Regions from separate parts of the Homo sapiens genome. Here region 1 is linked to region 2. Evidence: promoter capture Hi-C in 16 types of primary human blood cells and fetal thymus (Javierre and others, 2016). All regions are on one chromosome and are shown on one strand. The core of a region is centred on a gene start or on the middle of the fragment in contact, and the rest is flanking DNA. Distances in the headings are between cores, read along the strand shown.

Evidence for each region. Contacts are between HindIII fragments. The CHiCAGO score rates a contact against its expected background, and 5 or more counts as called.
Region 1: a contact is called between a fragment that was not itself captured here and the fragment with the promoter of RAB6B in region 2, in 1 of 17 cell types (erythroblasts). The highest score is 5.4, in erythroblasts.

The regions. Positions count from the first base shown.
Region 1 is chr3:133,810,861-133,815,053 of GRCh38, reverse strand. SRPRB (SRP receptor subunit beta) reads right to left here. Exons shown (of 7, transcript NM_001379313.1): 4 at 3,855-3,937. Among named protein-coding and RNA genes, the nearest start is that of SRPRB, 7.1 kb to the right of the region's middle. The HindIII fragment of the contact is 9,216 bases long and covers 1-4,193 here.
Region 2 is chr3:133,894,632-133,898,933 of GRCh38, reverse strand. It overlaps RAB6B (RAB6B, member RAS oncogene family), which reads left to right and starts at 3,052. Exons shown (of 8, transcript NM_016577.4): 1 at 3,052-3,537. The coding sequence starts at 3,468. RefSeq lists a silencer at 3,033-3,082. The HindIII fragment of the contact is 7,968 bases long and covers 1-4,302 here.

The DNA of each region.
Region 1 (4,193 bases), core at 1,694-4,193, 84 kb after region 2:
ATACGTGAAACACATTCCCTGGGGAAGTCAAGGTAAGCTGGTACACAGGGAGATGGGGAAATGAAGGAGAACCAAGTCAGACAGTGAGGCGTGACACAATGACCTGTGGAGTTCATGCTTTTCTGTCTTATGAAGAATATTGGTGCCTAAATGGAAGACAAAGCAATCTTAGAGGGCGCTTGAACTAGAAGCACAGTGACCAGGTAGGGCCTGAACTAAGGCAGCCATAGTGGGACTCCTCATGTGACAGAAACAAAGAGATATCAAAGCTAAAGTGCAGCAGCCCAGGGAAACTGCAGACAACAGGTCTTAGGGGGCCGGGTGCGGTGGCTCACGCCTGTAATCCCAGCACTTTGGGGGGCCGAGACAGGCAGATCACTTGAGGTCAGGAGTTCGAGACAAGTCTGGGCAACATGATGAAACCCAATCTCTACTAAAAATATAACAATTAGCCAGATATGGTGGCGGGAGCCTGTAATCCCAGCTACTTGAGAGTCTGAGGCAGAAGAGTTACTTGAACCCAGAAGGCGAAGGTTGCAGTGAACTGAGATCATGCCACTGCACTCCAGCCTGGGTGACAAAGCGAAACTCCATCTCAAAGAAAACAAAAAAACAAAAAAACCGGCCAGGCGCGGTGGCTCACGCCTGTAATCCCAGCACTTTGGGAAGCCGAGGCGGGCGGATCACGAGGTCAGGAGATCGAGACCATCCTGGCTAACACGGCGAAACCCTGTCTCTCCTAAAAATACAAAAAATTAGCTTGGTGTGATGGCGGGTGCCTGTTGTCCCAGCTACTCAGGGGACTGAGGCAGGAGAATGGCGTAAACCTGGGAGGCAGAGCTTGCAGCGAGCCAAGATCGCGCCACTGCACTCCAGCCTGGGCAACAGAGCGAGACTCCGTCTCAAAAAAAAAAAAAAAAATACAAGCCTTATGGACAAGGGTTTGAATGCCCAGGTGGAGATAAGAGACATGCAATGGCCAACATGCAGCTGGGGAGCTAGAACTGAATGCCCTGCACAAAGCCTACAACTTAAAATAGTCTCAGGGAGGTCGGGGCTTGCAAAAAAAGTTCCCTTAGAAACAGCGGGCCTCCACTGCCTCACACAGATATAGGGTATGAATTTATACTCTCTCCAGGTGTAAGACCCCCAAGGGGAAAGGCTTACATAAAAATTGGGCCAGACTTATTGAAGCCCTATGGCCCCAACAGAAGGAACTATGAACCGCTTATGGAGCAAGGCTTTCATATCCTACGGGATTAAAGAACCACCACAATATCAATGATGTGTCACTCTTGAAGAAAGGTTCTGGAGCAAAAATTACAAGGCACAGAATAAAATAATTATGAGGGAGAATAACTGGTACCCCAAAGAGAATAATCAGCACCCCAAAACTAAGATAATAAAGCTATCTATAAAGTAAATGTTTAAAATTATTTAAGAAAATACTACAAACTACAATAAAAAATAGAATAGTATAAAAAGAAACAGGCTGGTTTGAAAAGGTAAGTATTTTAGACAAATATAGTAAATGATATTAATAAATCAATGGAAAAGTTAAGCAGAGATCATGCTCAGCTGAAAATAATGTAATAAACTAGAAAACAAATCTGAGGGAATCTTACAATATGCGAAGTAGAAAGATCTGGAAGATACGATAGAGAGGAAACAAGAAAGGCAAAAATAATAAGGTTCAATAACATTCATAAGAATTCCAGAGTGTGAGAAATGATCATGGGGAAACAGCACTACCTGGAGAAACGATGGTGAGAATTTTCCAAAACTGAGGAGAATCTTTGGTTTGGAATAGCACAACTGAATTCCAAGAATGATAAAGCTAAATCCATCCTTGAACAGAAGAAAATCTATCCCTGGATAGAAGGTCAAATCAGGCAGACTTACTACAGTGAAATGACAATTAGACTGACTGGCAAAAACATTCTCATCTGCAACAGATGGATGAGGTCAGGAGTGATGCGGCTGCCACCCAGGACTCTGCACTCAGCTAAAAGAGACATTCCAAAATGCTGGCCAAATAGAGTTACAAATGAACAAAGACTGAAAACATTTGACTACTCATCACCCTCTCTGGAAACACTTCTAAAAGATATACTCAGTGAGGGAAAACTGAATCTAAAGGGAAGAAGTAAAATTCAAGAAGCAATGGGGAGCAAAAGACCATAAGCATCCTGGTAATTCTCATCACTGAATGTAAGAGGAAAAAAAAGTATGGATGGGGGTTAAAAAGGAGCATAAATAAAAGGAAGATGTGAGGAAGATGAAAGTTAAAGTGTTTAAGGTTCAGGAAAAGGAAACTGATATTATTGGATTCAGACAATCAAATAGGCAATGTTTAAAAGATGGGGGAGGGGAACCATGATAAGAACAGCAACAGCATATGTTCAAATCAGGAGAGGGAAAATAGCCACTAGGGAAACTTGGCGAAGCCAGAAAGTAGGATTAAAAAAAAGTCACATACCAATATAGTAAATGTCTTTTCAACTTGCATGTTATCATGATTATAATTTATTTGAACTAAGTTTTATCTTCATATTTTGCATGTTTTATTTACCCAAAATACATGAATCACAGAGTAGTTATACTGCAAATCATAAAATATTTAGAACTGGCAATAGAAAAAGAAAAAACATTTAATTGGAAATAAAAACCCAATTATGGCAAAATTTACCAGCTCTAGATTTGTCTCAATTGTCCAAGGAATTTTCTTATCTGTGACAAATTGTTCATCACCACCATCTTGTGGGCAAAGATGCAATAATGAAATTTCAGTCTAGACATCTTCAATAAAAGGCAAAGAATCTACTACTTCATTCCATCAAAACTAAAATGCTGCCAATTAAAGACATTATTTTAGGGACCGCTAAGAGAAAATACTGCCAATTAAACTATGACACCATCAACTATAAGATATATTCTAAATTCAGAGATATTAAAATGTGTCTTCAAATCAGTGAAATGTGGCATACTGATTTTCCTCTTCAGTTCTTATTAATGTTAGAGACCAAAAAAGAAGCATCTGAAACTGCAGCATAAGACTTTTTAGGGAAGAACTTAAGAGTCAGTAACACCAGAGCACACACTAAAAGAAATATGGAAATATTGTTCTGTACTTCTTGAAACATCAATTTTACGTAATTTGAGAATATATATGGGCCAGGTGCAGTGGCTCACGCCTGTAATTCCAGCACTTTGGGAGGCTGAGGCCAGCGGATCATGAGGTCAGGAGTTCGAGACAAGCCTGGCCAACATGGTGAAACCCCATCTCTACTAAAATTATGAAAAATTAGCAGGGTGTGGTGGTGCGTGCCTGTAATCCCAGCTACTCAGGAGGCTGAGGCAGGAGAATCACTTGAACCCAGGAGGTGGAGGTTGCAGTGAGCCGAGATCACACCACTGCACTCCAGCCAGGACAACAGAGTGAGACTCCATCTCAAAAAAAAAAAACAAAAAAACACTATATATATAAATGATGTTGGCATTTAAAAACTGCTAGGATTCATCCCAGCTTTAAAATTCTTTTTTCAGATTTTAATAGTCATATACATTATTAAATTCACCTTCAGAATAAATGCAAACATTTAGTAACAATGACAAGAAGGGTTAACATTTCCTAAACACTAAAAAACACTTTTTAAGCATTTTAATCCCATAAAATCCTCATCATCCAGGTGAAGGTGGACTTGCAACCCAGAACTGGCTGACCCCAAGGTCACCTCAAGGTCTACCACAGGATACCATGCTGCCTCCCAAACACCACCAGAGCAAATCACATGAGTGGCTTTGATATACAGATACAGACCTAGACAAGCCCACTTCACTTCTTTCCTTCTTACCTGGCTGAAGACTTAAACCGCTCTAAGAACTGAAGCCTCAAACTCTCATGGCCGGGAAGGTCAATCAAGGTCAGACTATTGCCCTGGGGATGGCAGCAATAACATTAACGTTTCAATACAGTTCCACGTTCACAATATAAACCTTTAGTATCATATATTGGCTACCAAACTGGTACCTAATTAACCAAACAAATGTTCACAAAGCATCTTCTACTCATAAAACACTAGTCAACGTTCTGGGGATGTAACAGTGGCCAAAGACACGGTTCCTGATCTGGCAAAATTTATGAGAAAGGTGAACATAATGTAAAATTACACATAAATATAAAATGAGAACAC
Region 2 (4,302 bases), core at 1,803-4,302:
ACATAGTAACTCCCTGCACTGTTTTTTATAACCTCTATGTGAGTATAAAATTATTTAAAATAATTTTAAAAAAGGCCAGGCGTGGTGGCTCACACCTGTAATCCCAGCACTTTGGGAGGCTGATGCAGGCGGATCACGAGGTTAAGAGATTGAGACCATTCTGGTCAACATGGTGAAACCTCGGCTCTACTAAAAATAAAAAAATTAGCTAGACCTGGTGGTGCGTGGCTGTAGTACCAGCTACTCGGGAGGCTGAGGCAGGTGAATTGCTTGAACCTGGGAGGCGGAGGTTACAGTGAGCCGAGATGGCGCCGCTACACTCCAGCCTGGTGACAGACCAAGACTCCATCTCAAAAATAATAACAACAATAATAAAATAAAATAAAATAAAAATTTTAAATGACACATTTTACAGAAAATCATTTAAAAATTGGGGCATAACTAGAATACTAACCAGCAGTGAAAATGAAAGAACTGCTGCTACATGAATTAACAAATGGATCTCAGAAACATGATGTTAAGAAACATGCAAGTCAGGACAGAAAACACAGTTTGATACCTTATATAAGATTCAAAAGATGCAAAACAAAACAAAGTATTGTGAAGGACACATCCAATGTGATAAAACTCAAAGAAAAGCTAAGATTCTGGATTTCCAAGTTGGGGAGGGAGGAAGGAGAAGAAAGCACCTGGGGGCCTGAAAAGTACTATAATATTTGAGCCCTCCAGCTGTGTAGAGGGTAAATGGGCACTCAGAGTGATAGGTTTTCTTTGTAACTTACATATACACAGCACATACTAAATAGGAAGATTTAAAGAATTTTTTTAAATGGAATGCACAGATTCTATGATATGGAAGAAACTCTTTCTAGTGAGGTTGCCAGGCTGAGGTTCAGTGGCCCCATTTTCCACCTGGAGAAAGTCTGTCTGCTTTAGGGCAGGTTAAGGACAAGACTCAAAATCAGGGGAGATAAGCAATGATAGTTGGAGGAGAGAGACTTGGAGCAGAGCAAACTTGGAGTCTCTAAGGCTCTCATTTCCACAGCATGATGACTGCATTCTGAGAGCAATGCCAGTATCTGCTCCAGCGACGTGAGCCCGGTAGTCGGAGCCGGGTTTTTGTCATTTGAACTGGAAGAATTATGACAGAGTCCCCCAAAGTAAGCTGGACCATAGTCAGCCCAGCTGGACCTGGTAAGCATATGGGATGACTTGGAGGCTTAGAGGTGCCCAGAGGGGCCCTGCCCCAGCCCTCCCTCCCCTACTGCCATACCACCTTACATGTGCGGGACCAGATGATCAGAGGAGGTACAGGACCTGCCTAGGCTTACCCAAAAGATGGTGCCTTTTCTGGCACACCTCAGCTGTTTTGTCTTGCCACCGATGATCTCATCAGGTCAGGATGAGAGGGTACAGGGAGACAGCACTAGATGTTAGGAGAAGGTGCAGGTTGGAGGAGTGTTGCATGGCTGGGTACCTTGGCCAGTAGCTCACTGGCCCTTCTTTGGAGGGATCACTTATAGAGACGGGAAGGGCTGTGACTTGGGAGTCTCCTCTCCTTTCAGAGCTTTCTTCAACCCCAAGCTGGATATGGTCTCCTAAGAGAGCAGGAGCCCCAGAGAAGTGGGTGGGTGTCTGGAGGGTTACCCTGAGCCTGGTGCCAGCCACAACGGGGCAGATATTCTAGGTGATGACTTACAATCCCTGGGGTTCCAAACTAAAGGTAATTATGAGAATAGGACAGTTATTTTGATTTGAGTTCTAGATGTTCATTCAAACATTCAACAACTATTTCTTAAACTCTGAGCTATGTCCTTGGGATGCAGTGGTGGAGCTTCAACTACTGCTTTTATGGAACTTGTGGTCAGGTTTCTAACAAGAAATAGGAAAGAGATTCGAGGTGAGCACACCAGGGAGACAGATAGGCTTGCCCAAGCAAGCCCCATAAGTCAAAAAGGGGGTAACAAGTGTCCACGAGAAATCTGGAGGTGAAGGTTGTGTCTCACTCCTCTTTCTCTTTCTATAACACATGCGTGCACACACCATCGTGTTCACCGACATGCAGATTATTATCTCAAATAAATGCTCACTGAACAGCCATAAATGAACAAGACCACGCTGTGGCAGAACAGTAAGGGACAGCTTTGTAAAACCTCAATTAACCAGCATGCCTTAGGCTCGGGCTGTCTTGGGAGTGTTTCTAGCACTTGGCGTCTGCTCTTTGCTCTCACTCACTCACAACTTGGTCTGTGTGCCTCGATGGACCAGGCAAGTAGAGGCCAAGGAGAGGTCGCCCACATGTCCTCAGATAGCTCATTGTCCAGATACACCTAATTGCCAGGGTGGGGAGTGGCATTGTCAGCCTGGCGACCCCGGGATCAAGAAACGCAGGGCACTGTCCTGGAGATAGTGGCACTGGCATTCAGAGCGTCACCGTTCCTTCTCTCCCATGGGGCAGGTTAGGATTTGGCATAAAATGATCCAAATGAGCAGCTGGTTTGAGGTAGGCGCGCCTGATATTGGCAGCTCCTCTCTCGCTGGCCAGGTCTGCGGGGGCACCCACAGACTCCACAAGAGGCCGCCCAAATAAAGGGTCTAGGCCTCGAGAGGGAAGGGCGGGCTAGAAGCCACGGGGGGCAAGAGTCGAGCCCCATCTGCGCCAAGTACGCCAGGTTTCCCTAGGTCTGACCGCCCTGACGGGCCTCGCCACACCCTGGCTCTCCCCCACCTTCGTTCCTTTCCGCCCTGTCGGTCGGACGACTGCGCTGTGCATCGGTGTCTCGCGAGGTGGAGGAAGGGACTGGCATCTAGGTTTAAAAGACCAGAAACAAATGTCCCCTGACAATTTCTGTCATTTTCTGGATTCAAAAGAGGGGTAGAGTGGGGAAGACAGACGCAGCGGGGCAGCGAGACACGGTCCCCCCCGGGGGGCTCTCAGGGGTACGGCGAGGAGGTTCTCTCCTGCCCGGGTGCGGGCTCGGGTGGGCGGGCGCACGCCCCCCAGCCCCGCAGCCCCGCGGGCCCCGCATGACATCAGAGGCTGGGGAGCGCACAGAGCGCAGGCGCCGGCGGAGGAGGCAGGCGGGAGGGGGCCGACTGGCGCGGCTCTGGAGAGCGCTCCTCCGCCCCGCGCGCCGTCCCTGCGCCCCGCTCCGCCCGCGCCTCTCTCCCAGCGCCGCGCCTCGGGCGTAAAGAGCGCGCCCCTCGCACCGCAGCCAGTGCCGACCGCAGCAGCCCAGCCCCAGCCTTCCTCCGCCTCCGCCTCTCTCTCCTCCTCCTCCTCCGCCGCCGGACACGCAGCCGCAGGCCGGGACCGGGACGCAGCTGGGGAGTCAGGGACGCGCGCAGCCAGCCCTTCCCCCTCCGGCTCCCGCACCGCCGGCCGCCTCCCCTCGCCCTCCTACTCTCCCCTCCCTGCTCCTTCGCTTTTTCCTCCTCCTCCTCTCCCGGCCCCGGCTGCCAGCACCATGTCCGCAGGGGGAGATTTTGGGAATCCACTGAGAAAATTCAAGTTGGTGTTCTTGGGGGAGCAGAGCGGTAAGTACCCGGCTTAATCTCTTGGCTTGTCGCCGAGTCGACCCCCGCCGCCCAATCGCCCACCCCATTGGGACCCCCGGCCCAGGCTCGGAAAGGCCCCTCCTTGCCAGGGTAGAGGAGAGGGACAGGGATGGGGAGGTCGGGGCGGGGTCGGGCTGGGGAGGGGCCAAGGGTGAGGACGGAGGAGGCGCTGGAGCCTGGGGTGGAGGTGAGGGTGGGCTCTGGGTGGGGGGCCCGGGGTGTGGGTGCAGGTGCGGCGCTGCAGGGGGCCCGGAGGGCGGCGGCTGGCTCCGCGGCGCTGGCCAGGGCGTGAAGGAACCGGGCTCGCTGGCTAGCTCACACTGCGGCACCGGCTGCGGGCGACCGCGCAGGTGGCTGGGTGCTGGCGGGGGTGGGGAGAGCGACGGGCGCCCCCCTTGGAGAACGAAGCGAAGCTGGGGTCTGGCCGGGCCTCACTCCGCTGCACTGGAGGGGTGTTCCCTGCGGACCCTGCTGGGAACCATGCGAAAGGGCACGTCCAGGGCGTGGGACAAACAGCCACCGGGGAGAAAAGAGCGACACCTGTCTCTGCTCGAAAGAGCGAGTGCAGGCCATGGGGGAACGGGGAGCCTACCTCCCCTGGCTCACGTCCGACTGGGCACAGAAGGTTCTAGACCCGCTGCCCTTCGCCGGCGCTTGTTAGTCTCCTTGCTGCCCAGGGATCTGGGCAATTGCAGTGAGGGCTACCCCAACTCGAGGCGATTTGGGGAATGATACAGGGGCACC